2 separate regions of the Homo sapiens genome follow, and region 2 is linked to region 1. Evidence: promoter capture Hi-C in human tissues and cell types (Jung and others, 2019). All regions are on one chromosome and are shown on one strand. Each heading gives the region's core, a stretch centred on a gene start or on the middle of the fragment in contact. The rest is flanking DNA. Distances are from core to core; before and after follow the strand shown. Region 1 holds the start of ZNF282 (zinc finger protein 282). Region 2 holds the start of REPIN1 (replication initiator 1).

What was found. Contacts are between HindIII fragments. The study calls those that stand out against the background at their distance.
Region 2: a contact is called between the fragment with the promoter of REPIN1 here and the fragment with the promoter of ZNF282 in region 1, in 1 of the 25 tissues and cell types used here (aorta).

Annotation. Positions count from the first base shown.
Region 1 is chr7:149,194,179-149,197,127 of GRCh38, forward strand. It overlaps ZNF282 (zinc finger protein 282), which reads left to right and starts at 1,368. Exons shown (of 8, transcript NM_003575.4): 1 at 1,368-1,576. The coding sequence starts at 1,412. RefSeq lists silencers at 1,036-1,325, 1,144-1,465, 1,586-1,945 and an enhancer at 2,386-2,435. The HindIII fragment of the contact is 19,438 bases long and covers 1-2,949 here.
Region 2 is chr7:150,367,464-150,370,163 of GRCh38, forward strand. It overlaps REPIN1 (replication initiator 1), which reads left to right and starts at 1,359. Exons shown (of 3, transcript NM_001099695.2): 1 at 1,359-1,478; 2 at 2,208-2,405. The coding sequence starts at 2,249. The region is part of intron 3 of REPIN1-AS1 (REPIN1 antisense RNA 1); the gene reads right to left. RefSeq lists enhancers at 833-892, 932-1,736, 1,737-2,542, 2,543-2,700 and silencers at 1,143-1,612, 2,123-2,272. The HindIII fragment of the contact is 15,434 bases long and covers 1-2,700 here.

The DNA of each region.
Region 1 (2,949 bases), core at 118-2,617:
GTAATTTTTATTTTTTATTTTATTATTATTATTATTATTTTTTTTTGAGACGGAGTCTTGCTCTGTTGCCCAGGCTAGAGTGCAGTGGCGCGATCTCGGCTCACTGCAAGCTCCGCCTCCCGGGTTCACGCCATTCTCCTGCCTCAGCCTCCCGAGTAGCTGGGACTACAGGCGCCGCCACCACACCCGGCTAATTTTTTTGTATTTTTAGTAGAGACGGGGTTTCACCGTGTTAGCCAGGATGGTCTCGATCTCCTGACCTCGTGATCCGCCCGTCTTGGCCTCCCAAAGTGCTGGGATTACAGGCGTGAGCCACGGCGCCCGGCCTTATTATTATTTTTTGAGATGGAGTCTCGCTCTGTTGCCCAGGCTGGAGCGCACTGGCGCGATCTTGGCTCACTGCAACCTCCGCTTCGGAGGTTGAAGCGATTCTCCTGCCTCAGCCTCCCGAGTAGCTAGGATTATAGGCCCACGCCACCACGCCCGGCTAATCTTTTTGTATTTTTAGTAGAGACGGGGTTTCACCATGTTGGCCAGGCTGGTCTCGAACTCCTGACCTCAGGTGATCCGCCTGCCTCAGCCTCCCAATGTGCTGGGATTACAGATGTGAGCCACCGCGCTCGGCTAATTTTTATTTTTTATAGGGATGGGGTGTCAATATGTTGCTCAGTCTGGTCTCGAACTCCTGGGCTCAAGTCGTTCTCCTGCTTCAGCCTCTCAGAGTGCTGAGATTACAGGTGTGAGGCACCACGCCCAACCCAATTTCAAGGTGTTTGAAGAGGCCACTGTTAAAATGCACTGCACCTTACCTGGGAGAAAGAGCTCAGCCCTCTTTTGACACCTTAACATGAATCACTTCTCTATCATCCATAACAGTGCAAAAGCTCTGGGATGGGTCCAGGTAAATCTGGATTGGGAAGAAGGGGAGTGGGAGGTAAAGTCTGCAAAGGAGTGAGGGAAGGCAGAAGGCCAGAAGAAAGTGTCTGAAGACAGAATTACTCCTGCAAAATTTTCACAAGGGTCAGGCACTATTTTCTCCCGGGATGCCCAATACATTTGCAGAATTAACAGTAATCAAGCCCACAGTCCAGGTCCTCGCATAGTTTGGGCCTTTAAAGTCGGCCATCCCAGATTGAGGGGGCCTGACCCCTGGGCGAGGCCGCCGCCTCTCAGTTTTGGGGCGGTGGCGACCCCAGTCCGGGAGTGGCCCCGGTAGGTCCCCGCAGGCGGGCAGGAGCTCCGAGGCCATTGGCTGGCGCGCGGGCTGCCAAGGGGCGGGGAGCGCCGCCGAAGGGGACTGTTTGCTCCTACGGGCTGTAGATGGAGCTGTCCGGCCCCGGAGAGGGGGAAGGCGCCTGGAAAACGTTCTTCTTCTCCCTGGCCGACCCGAGCGGGGAACAGCACTCCCAGGATGCAGTTTGTGTCAACACGGCCGCAGCCTCAGCAGCTGGGCATCCAGGGCCTGGGGCTGGACAGCGGGAGCTGGAGCTGGGCCCAGGCTCTGCCCCCGGAGGAGGTCTGCCACCAGGAGCCGGCGCTGCGCGGGGAAATGGCCGAGGGAATGCCGCCCATGCAGGTGGGAGAACCCCGCCGGCGCCATGGCCGCGCTGCCGTGGGGGCGGGGCGCGGGCTGGGCCGCGGGACCGGGCCGCGCCGTCCTCCGGTAGCCTTGCGGCGCCCTCCCAGCTTCCGCGCCCAGGCGAGGCCCGAGGCGGGCGGGGCACGGCCGGGCTGCGCGGCGGGCAGGACGGAGCGGGCCCGACGCAGGCCCGGAAGGGCAGGCCTGGCCCGCGCGGCGCGGAGCAGCGGTCGCCGGGCCCAAGTGCGGAGGCCCCGCGGGGCGGGGGCCGGGACCGTCCTTTCCGGGACCTGGCAGAGCTCTGACCCTGTGGCTGAGCCCCGGCTTGGGGCTCCCTTTGCGCCCGGCCGGCGGAGAGCTTCGCGGGCAGTGCTTCCGCCCGGCCGCAGAAGTGAATGCCTCGTTCGTGTTTACACGGTGGCCAATTTGACGGGGATATTTTTTAAATGTTTGATTACCACCTTTCACCAAGTGTAATGAGTAATTCACTCTCCCCCTGCACCGGGTGTGATCCAGGGAGGGGGCCATGGAGAGATGACTTCGGGGTCTTTCCTGCGGTTGACAAACTTGGCCGCATGTTGGAATGGCCTGGGCAGCTTTTAAGACTCCTGAGCCCTTGCCTGGTCCCAGAGCTCAGGGTCTCTGACGGGTGAGAGTAGCACCAGGCATTTCTTCAGGCTCCATCGATGATCTCCGTGGGCAGAACCGGTGCTCCAGAATTGGGTATAAAACCAGGGGAGGTGGATCCTCAGAGAGGCCTGAAAGCTTGCCCAGGGAAGACTCTCTGGGCCCACCCTGGGGCTGGGCTGCTCAGGGGCCCCTCTGCTCACCACGCGGCTCTCAGCCAGGTGCTAACGAGGGAGCCAGGGGCTGCTGTGTTGTGTTTGATCATTTTCAGGGTTAGGGCTTCAAACCCGAGAAAACTAAACTGGGCCCCGGGACTTTCTTAACTTCTACTGTGGACTCTGTCCCCTTCTGTGGGCTAGGGCGGAGTGGAGCCTCTGTGATGGAGGAATGGGTGCTTTTGATGGAAACACCAGCACCTCTTACTGGTATTACAGGGCCTGGCGATCCTAGGGCCCTGCTCTCCACTCTGCTGTGTCCCGGAGCAGGTCTGCCCCGGAGCAGGGCTGCTCTTGAGTCAGAGAGTGGGGCTGGTCTGCCCAGATCGCCCCAAGCAGCAGGCCTCCCCTTTTCCTAGCCTGAGGGCCTTTTCTGCAGCCATCGGGAGGACAGAAAATGACACCTCTTCCTGTCCCAGGTGTGAAGGAGAGTCGGCTGCCAGCCCATGTGGTCCAGTGAGCCCTGAGTCTGACACCAGGTCCCAGATGACCAGTGAACTGTCACCAGCCTCAACCAGCCCCCCTTAG
Region 2 (2,700 bases), core at 109-2,608, 1.2 Mb after region 1:
ATAAAACTGGCAAAAAATAACCATGTGAAAAAACAATCCAGCTAACTAGTACTCTAAGAAATGCAAGTACAAAAGATGAGAAATAACCATTTCAAACTAAATTTTTTTTTTAAAAAAGTCTGTGTTGTCAAGTATATGGAAAATGGGCATTTCTCAGGGAAAACTAATACGTTTTCCTGGAAGATAATTTAGAAAACATTTAAAAAATATATTCCTTTTATACAGCCATAAATAATCATGTTTAAAAGAATATCTAATAAAATGGAAGAAAATTCACAAGATCGTGTTAAGTGAAGAAGGCAGAATACATCTTCGCAAGGCATTATTCCAATTATGCCAGACATGCCATGGATATACGTAGAGAAAACACCGGAGGCAACATACCAAAATATTAAATGTAATTGACTCTACGAGGTAAAACTGAGTTTTATGTTCCCCTATTTCCTATTTATGCAATAGATTTAAAAAGTATTTTTACGACTAATTATACAATTCAAAAATTGCCTGTGTTGAAAAGCATGAAAGTACATGAAATTGTACTACCCTGGAAACCCCAGGAAGTGTTTAGTTTGGAAAGCCAGGGCCACCTGCTAGTGGGTGAGTCATGGGCACAGGCTCGCACCTGCCACCGCAGACGCCACACAGGCTGCTGAGCCTTTCCAAGCGAAATGCCCCACGTGCGCCAACGGCCACCTCGGCCGTCGCCCCACGCTTGGCCCGCAGCCAGAGGAAGCCCAGCAACTTCTGCTCTTTCTTAATTTCTAGAAAAGAGTGAAGAGAGGCCTTTTCAAAGTTCGCAGGATCGGGCCTTTTTGTGCTCCACTTTGGAACAAATCGGAAGCTAGGGCCTTCCAGGTGCGCCACCGCCGTCCCGGGACCGCCGCGGCCGCAAGCGTCCGCACTGCGGCCGGGGTGCGCGGCCTGAGAAAGGCCCGGGCAACGACGCTCCGGGGGCTTGCCGGAGCCCTCTTTGAAGTCTCCCGACGGGCTCCCAGCCTCTCATAAGGCAGCTAAGGCCGAACACCCCGGTGACCATAGGCCAGCCACGCGGTCGCCCGGGGACGCGCGTGCTCCGCAGGGACAAAGGGTCGGGAAACTTGAGCTCCGGCCAGTCCCAGAGAAACCCGGGCTGGTGGTCGCCATGGCAACGGAGTCCGACCCTCCGAGGCCTGCCGCCCTGGCGCGGCAGTGGCTTGAGTGACCCGGCCCGCTCTTGGCGGGGGCGCCCGCGCCCCGGCCCCGGCAGTCCCTCCCCGCCCCCAGGCCGCGGCCGCGGGAGCCGGCGACTGACCCTCGGCAGCTCCTGTAGTCACGTGGCGCTGGGAACCCGGCGGGGGGAGGTTGGGGACGGGCCTGGCAGTTGTGAACTCGAACCTGCCGCTGTCGCCGCGGCGGGGCGGGGAGCGAGAGTGGGCCGCGGAGGCCGGCCTTCGGGCTCCATGGACGGGCGCCGCGTCCCTGCACAGCCCGCCGCAGAGGTACGGCCGGGGCAGGGGCGCGGGGCCACCGCGGGCCCGCGGGGGGCCGCTCCACCTGCGGGGCGCGTGACCGTGAGTGTGCGCGACCGTGTGTGAGTGCGCGGGGGGGGACGCTGCTGGATCTGCGGGGGTGGGGGAGCGCACCTGCGCACAGGCTCCGCGAGCTGCGCCGTGCGTGGGACCCGAAATGGCTCACTCGCAAGAACGGGACCCGTGTGCCCGGGAGCGTGGACGGAGGACACGCATCAGTACAAAAGGGCGGTGTGGGGCTTCTGCCACCCGCGGCCAGCCGCGATGCGGAAGGGGATTCTGACGGAGTCGTGGTCACACCAGCTGGCCCTGCGCAGCCCCATGGGAAATAGGCCTGGAATTCCTGTCGGGAGGAGGCTGGGGGAAGGGGAGCCAGCAGGGATTCCAGAGTTCCTGCCATAGGCCGGCCTTTGGCCATCAGGGAAAGCCCAGACTCTGGCCACAGAATGGAGAATTCGTTCCGTGACCTTACCAGGGAAGAAAGTGACCCCGAAAGACAGCAGTGTGCTTCCTTGTTGAAGGGGCACATTCATTTATTAATCCAATGTCCATTAAGGTCACTCTGCCAGGCAGGATGTGGGGCTTATGGCTGGTGCGTGTGGCTTTGTGGGGGGAGGGGTTGTGGCTGGTGAGGACACAAAGCTGACTGCCCTAGAGGAGCTCAGAGCCTCACTTCTGTTTTCTCTTCCCTCCCCACAGGTAAGGCTGGCCTCTCTGCAGTCAGAGGTCTGAGCTCTGCCATGGGGATAGGGGTGTCTTTATTACTGCAGTTTTCTCTAACACCTGGGGGCTACCGGAGTGTGGGCCGAAGCAGGCGCTGCAGCCGCGGAAGTATCCCCAGGAACATCCCCAAGAGGAGCTGGAAAAAGCCTCATCCCCAGCTCTGCAGTCTCCAGGGTAGAGTCTGGCCTTTGCTGTGCTCCCAAACCACGCCACAACAGGGGTGCACGGGCGTCCCCATCCCGGCGGAAGGAAATGGCCCTTTCTCATATCCTGGGGTCTTCCCTGTGCACAGTCTGACACTGGGAATGAGTGACCTTTGTGTTCCCTGAGAAGAGAGAGTGCGCTCTAGGGAATTTAGAAGGATGTGTCTGGAGCTTGTGAGCAGGCACAGAAGGGCCCTTAGGAGCCTAACTGCTTCCTTCCTCCTTCCGCGGAGGAGGCTCCTGTGCAGGAATCTGGGCTCCCCTGA